Linked DNA regions of Homo sapiens: region 2 is linked to region 1. The links are contacts of gene promoters, found by promoter capture Hi-C in human tissues and cell types (Jung and others, 2019). All regions are on one chromosome and are shown on one strand. Each heading gives the region's core, a stretch centred on a gene start or on the middle of the fragment in contact. The rest is flanking DNA. Distances are from core to core; before and after follow the strand shown.

What was found. Contacts are between HindIII fragments. The study calls those that stand out against the background at their distance.
Region 2: a fragment that was not itself captured here is called in contact with the fragment with the promoter of PTPRN in region 1 in 2 of the 25 tissues and cell types used here (liver and mesenchymal stem cells).

Annotation. Positions count from the first base shown.
Region 1 is chr2:219,308,118-219,311,195 of GRCh38, forward strand. PTPRN (protein tyrosine phosphatase receptor type N) reads right to left here and starts at 1,284. Exons shown (of 23, transcript NM_002846.4): 1 at 1,101-1,284. The coding sequence starts at 1,215. The HindIII fragment of the contact is 13,898 bases long and covers 1-3,078 here.
Region 2 is chr2:219,261,858-219,264,627 of GRCh38, forward strand. All of the region lies in intron 1 of TUBA4B (tubulin alpha 4b), which reads left to right. Among named protein-coding and RNA genes, the nearest start is that of TUBA4A, 9.3 kb to the left of the region's middle. The HindIII fragment of the contact is 3,379 bases long and covers 1-2,770 here.

The DNA.
Region 1 (3,078 bases), core at 34-2,533:
GATTCATAGAATTACTGCAGGAGAGGTTTTGGCCAAATTCTGAAAGAGGAATTTCCTTCCCAAATATGGAAAAGCATCCTATAATGGCCTGGAACTCAGAAGAGGTTCTAGCACACTTCCCCCGGTCGGGGGAAAGAGGGCATGGGTGGGGCTGGGGAGGGTGTCTCTTAGGCATCTCTCCTCGCGCTGTCCCGAGCCGCTGGCGCTGTCCGCGGTGCTGAAGCTCTGAGTCTGGCGCCGCCAAGGGCTGGCCTTGGAGGCGGTTACCAGAGAGGAAGGGGTCACAGAGCGAGGACTCTCCACTAGACCTGAGCCCTCTGTTGTATTCTGCCAACCCACAGCGTCACAGGAAGTACTCTGCCTCTCGGGCCTCCAAGCCCGGGTGGGGAAAGAGGGCGCCAGGCGGCGAGGCTGCGCCCCTTCCCCCACGCGCCACCCTCCCATCCCCCACCCCCTGTCCGTGAGTCAGCGCTGACTGTCTCTGTCCGCACAGATGTGAGTCAGCACCAGGCCTGGCTGTGGGGAGGGGGACAAGAGAGGACCCTCCCCTCTTCATCCTCTTCTGCCCCCTCCCCGTGCTGTCCCCCGTTACAGGAGATCAGATCGCTGCAATCAGCTTCTCTAGGCTTACGGAGAAACCCTGGCCTCTCTCTCTGCCCAGCTGGGACTCTATGTCTGCGGCCCAGGCTTCCACTGCCCAGAGATCACCGTTCCCTCATTCTCCCCGCCACCTCCCCTTCCCATTCCTCAGCGCCTGTCACCACCTCCCAGGCGCCTCGGAGCAAGTGGCTTCTCCTGTGGTCTCGCAGCCGGTCTCTAAGTCCCTCTGCCCACATGCACCCCGTGTCCTTCTCCCGAACCTGCAATTTTCCCCAGAGCCCAATTCTCTTAGGTCCCGCCCCCGTATTCCCAGCCCCACCTCCAGGCCTACGCCCCTTTCCTCCGAGACGCCCTCTCACCTTCCTCATCTCGCATGCCTCCCCCAACCCATATTCTCCCCGAGCTTCATGACATTTCACCCTCACCCCCACCGAGTTTCGCTCCAGGCCCCAAGCTGCTCCCCGCCCCCCACCACCCGCCAGCCCAAGTTTCCTCCTGACCGTGGGCACTAACGGCGCTGCAGCCCCCCGGGCGGCTGCTCAGCAGCAGGAGGCAGAGGAGCAGCCGGAGACCCCCGGATCCCCCGAGACCCCCAGGCCGCCGCGGGCGCCGCATCTTTCCGAGCTCCGGGCGCTCGCTCCCGGGCCGGAGCCGCAGCGACGCTGGCGGGAGCCTGCCAGAGGGGCTGAGGCGGGGCTTGCCGCTCCCCACCTCCCTACGAGGCGGGGTCTACATGCCCCTCTCGCTGCAACGCGGCCAACCGCAGGCGGGTGCTGACGACACCTCCACCCCCGGCTCGTAAGCTAATTTGCGTCACATATGGCGTAAGAGCCCTGTCGGAGCGGGGGACCTACCTAGCCCATCCCTCCTCCATCAAATAGTAGGCGCCTCGCTAGAATTCCCACTTGGCCCCATCCCTGTAGCCCTCTTCTAGGATCACCTCTGTCTCCCCGCCCCAGGGTGGGTGAAAAGGGTTAAGTTAAGTGGGGGGCCAGGAAAGATAGGTGGGTCCAGAACGATAAACCCGAAGACAAGAAGCAGAAAAGTGGGTAGAATAAGTACTCTTACTCATTGTCATTGAAGATACTGTTCTCTTCCTTAAGAAAAAATGGTTAGGCATGCCTAGATTCCAGTTCTAGCAGGGCATCTACTAAGGGTATGACCTTGGGCACCTTGTTTAACTTGTCTGCGTCCAAGTTTCCTGATCTGCAAAGTGGAGGTGTTAATAGTTACTACCCGCCTCACACAGTGATTGTGAAGATTTTGTTCGTTACACTAATATGGATCACTTAGAAGGATGACTGGACTGGTGCATACTACATGCTCCATACATATTAGCTGTCATCATTAGCTTTTATTTATTTTTTATTGAGATGGAGTCTTGCTCTGTTGGCCAGGCTGGATACTGGCGTGATCTTGGCTCACTGCAATGTCCACCTTCTGGGTTCAAGCCATTCTCCTGCCTCAGCCTCCCTAGTAGCTGGAATTACAGGCGCACAGCACCTTGCCCGGCTAATTTTTGCATTTTTATTGGAGATGGGATTTCACCTTGTTGGCCAGGATGGTCTTGAACTCTTGACCTCAGGTGATCCAACGGCCTTCGCCTCCCAAAATGCTGGGATTACAGGTGTGAGCTACCGGGCCTGGCCTCATCATTAGCTTTGACTCTCCTTTCTCTCCGTCTGTGCCACCTCGAGGCTATCAATCATTTTATGGTTTCTCCCTGCAAAATACATCTCCCATCAGTCCACTTCTGTCCATCCTCACTACCTGAACTGAAACACTGTGCTCTTTCACCACGACCACTGCAGCAATCAGCTAGTAACTGCTCTTTTGCTTCCACTCTAGTCATCCAATAAGTAGGGGAGTGAGCTTCTTAAGTTCAGATTTGATCTCCTTCCTCTCTTGCTTTCCAGTAAAATAAAATAAAATTTAAAAAGGACAGAAATGCATAATGAATACTTACATACTCATCATCCATACTTAATGGTTATTGATGTTTTACAATATTTGCTTCTTTTTAGTATTTAAACATGAATGATAGACATCATGACATTTCTCTTCTAAATATTTCATTATGCATCTCCAAGAAATAAGGACATTTTCCTGCATAACCTAAGTGCTGTTATGACACCTAAAAAAATTTACAATAATTCCTTAATATAATTTTTTAAATTTTTTTTTTTATTTTTTTGAGAAGGAGTCTTGCGCTCTTTTGCCCAGGCCAGACTGCAGTGGCACTATCTTGGCTCACTGCAAGCTCCCCCTCCCAGGTTCACGCCATTCTCCTGCCTCAGCCTCCTGAGTAGCTGGGATTACAGGTGCCTGCCACTGCACCCGGCTAATTTTTTGTATTTTTAGTAGAGACGGGGTTTCACCGTGTTAGCCAAGATGGTCTCGATCTCCTGACCTCGTGATGCACCCACCTCGGCCTCCCAAAGTGCTAGGATCACAGGCGTGAGCCACCGCGCCCGGGCA
Region 2 (2,770 bases), core at 72-2,571, 46 kb before region 1:
ATCTCATCTTGTAGAGCTCTCTCCTTTCCTCACTCTGGGTTTTTGGACACACTGGGCTAGTTCCTACCTATGATTGTTTGCACTTATTATTCTGTCTGTCTGGAGAACTGGTTTCCAGATCTTGCCTCGCTGACTCCTCACCATTCAGCCCTCAGTTCAAGTGTCACCTTCTGGCCGGGTGTAGTGGCTCACGCCTGTAATCCCAGCACTTTGTGAGGCCGAGGCGGGCGGATCATGAGGTCAGGAGATCGAGACCATCCTGGTTAACATGGTGAAACCCCATCTCTACTAAAAATACAAAAAATTAGCCTGGCGTGGTGGTGGGCGCCTGTAGTCCCAGCAACTCGGGAGGCTGAAGCAGGAGAATGGCGTGAACCCAGGAGGCAGAGCTTGCAGTGAGCTGAGATCGTGCCACTGCACTCCATCCAGCCTGGGCGACAGAGCGAGACTCGAGACTCTGTCTCAAAAACAAAACAAAACAAAACAAAACAAATATCACCTTCTTATAGAGTGGCTTCTGTTCAGTCTAAAATAGCAGCCCCTGCATATCTTTCTGTTCCATTATCCAGCCTTGTTTTCTTCACATGCTTATTGCTATCTGGAATGTTCTTGTTTGTTTATTGTCTGTCTTCCCCATGAAAATGAAAGCTCCATTTTATTTCTTTTTGAGACAGGGTCTTACTGTGTCACCCAGGCTGGAGTGCAAGTGGCATGATCACGGCTCACTGCAACCTTGACCTCCTGCGCTCAAGTGAGCCTCCCTCCTCAGCCTCCCAAGTAGCTGGGGCCACAGGCATGTGCCACCACACCCAGCTAATTAAAAAAAAATTTTTTTTTTTGTGGAGGCAGAGTCGCATTATGTTGCCCAGGCTAGAATGTAAGCTTCTTAAGAGCATAAACTTGCCAGGCACAGTGGCTCACACATGTAATCCCAGAACTTTGGGAGGCCAAGGTGGGCAGATCACCTGAGGTCAGGAGTTCGAGACCAGCCTGACCAACATGATGAAACCCCGTCTCTACTAAAAATACAAAAATTAGCCAGGCATGGTGGCATGCGCCTGTAATCCCAGCTACCTGGGAGGCTGAGACAGGAGAATTGCTTGAACCCGGGAGGCGGAGGTCGCAGTGAGCCGAGATAGCACCACTGCACCCCAGCCTGGGCAACAAGAGCAAAACTCCATTCCCCACCCCCCAAAAAAGCATAAACTTTTGTGTTTATCACTGTATCCCTGGCACCTGAAATGGTGCTTGGCATACAGCAAGCACTCAATATTTGTTGAAGAAATTAAGAGTATTCATGGCCTCTTATGTTTTAATCTAGATGCATTAAAATGCTTTAAAAATCTCAGTCTTGGCCGGGCACAGTGCCTCACACCTATAATCCCAACACTTTGGGAGGCCAAGGCAGATGGATCATCTGAGGTCAGGAGTTTGAAACCAGCCTGGCGAACATGGTGAAACACTGTCTCTACTAAAAACACAAAAATTAGCGGGGTGTGTTGGTGCATGCCTGTAGTCCTAGGTACTCGGGAGGCTGAGGCAGGAGAATTGCCTGAACCCAGGAGGAGGAGGTTACAGTGAGCCAAGATCACAAAACTCAGTCTTTTCATTCTGCTTTACATAAGACAGCTGACTGCCATTAGGATAGTTTTCTTTTTGGAGTTGGTGATACCTAGGTTGACTCTGAGAGTCCAACTCCCAAGGCCAGTTGGGAGAAGTTTCAGTGCTACACAAGAGAGTTTTGAGCCCAGTGGGCCCTCTGGGCCCCATATCACTCCATCTGGACAATAATTCCTGAGGTCCATGGTTTCATGGGCCAACCCAGTAGAAGGCTGAGCTTTCTTATCTTTGATATGTTAAGTGGCTGGGTCTCTTCTTTGGGCCTCTTTGTTCCAGGTGGGAGACAGAAGAGTTCTAACCTTCAGTCTGTAGCCAAAGCCAGAGTTAACCAACTTGAGATCATTCCCTAGCTTACTGGGTTGACAGGGTCTCTGAAAAAGTCCCCTGTTTCAACTGCACTATGTAACACAGTGGCTGAAATTTCACATTAGCAACTACTTCCTGGATAGGGTTGCTAAATAAAATACTTTTATTTGCTAAATCTGGCAGACCTAGTCCTGGTTTTGGCTGCTATCTGGAAGAGGGACTGAACTGTACAACAGTCCCCCCTTACTTACAAAGATATGTTGTAGGGCCCCCAGCGGATGCCTGAAATGGCGGATAGTACTGAACCTTATGTACTGTTTTTTCCTATACATGCATACATATGACCAAGTTTAATTCATAAATTAGGCACAGTAAGAGGTTAAGAACAACAATAGGCCAGGTGCAGTGGCTCATGCCTGTAATCCCAGAACTTTGGGAAGTCAAGGCAGGCAGATCACTTGAGGTCAGGAGTTCGAGACCAGCTTGGCCAACATGGTGAAACACCATCTCTAATAAAAATACAAAAATTAGCCAGGCGTGGTGGCATGTGCCTGTAATCCAAGCTACTCAGGAGGCTGAGGTGGGAGAATTGCTTGAACCCAAGAGGCAGAGGTTGCAGTGAGCTGAGATCATGCCACTGCACTCCAGCCTGGGTGACAGAGTGAGGCCCTGTCTCAAAAAAAAAAAAAAAAAGAACAATAATGATATAGAGAAATAAAGCAATGATAGTAATATGCCAGCATCACTGCTCTTGAGCGGTGGGGCTGTTATGAGGTAGAATAAGGGTTACATGAGCAGAAGCATCGCCACAGTCGATCTGATAAGGGATCCGGCTACTCAGTGG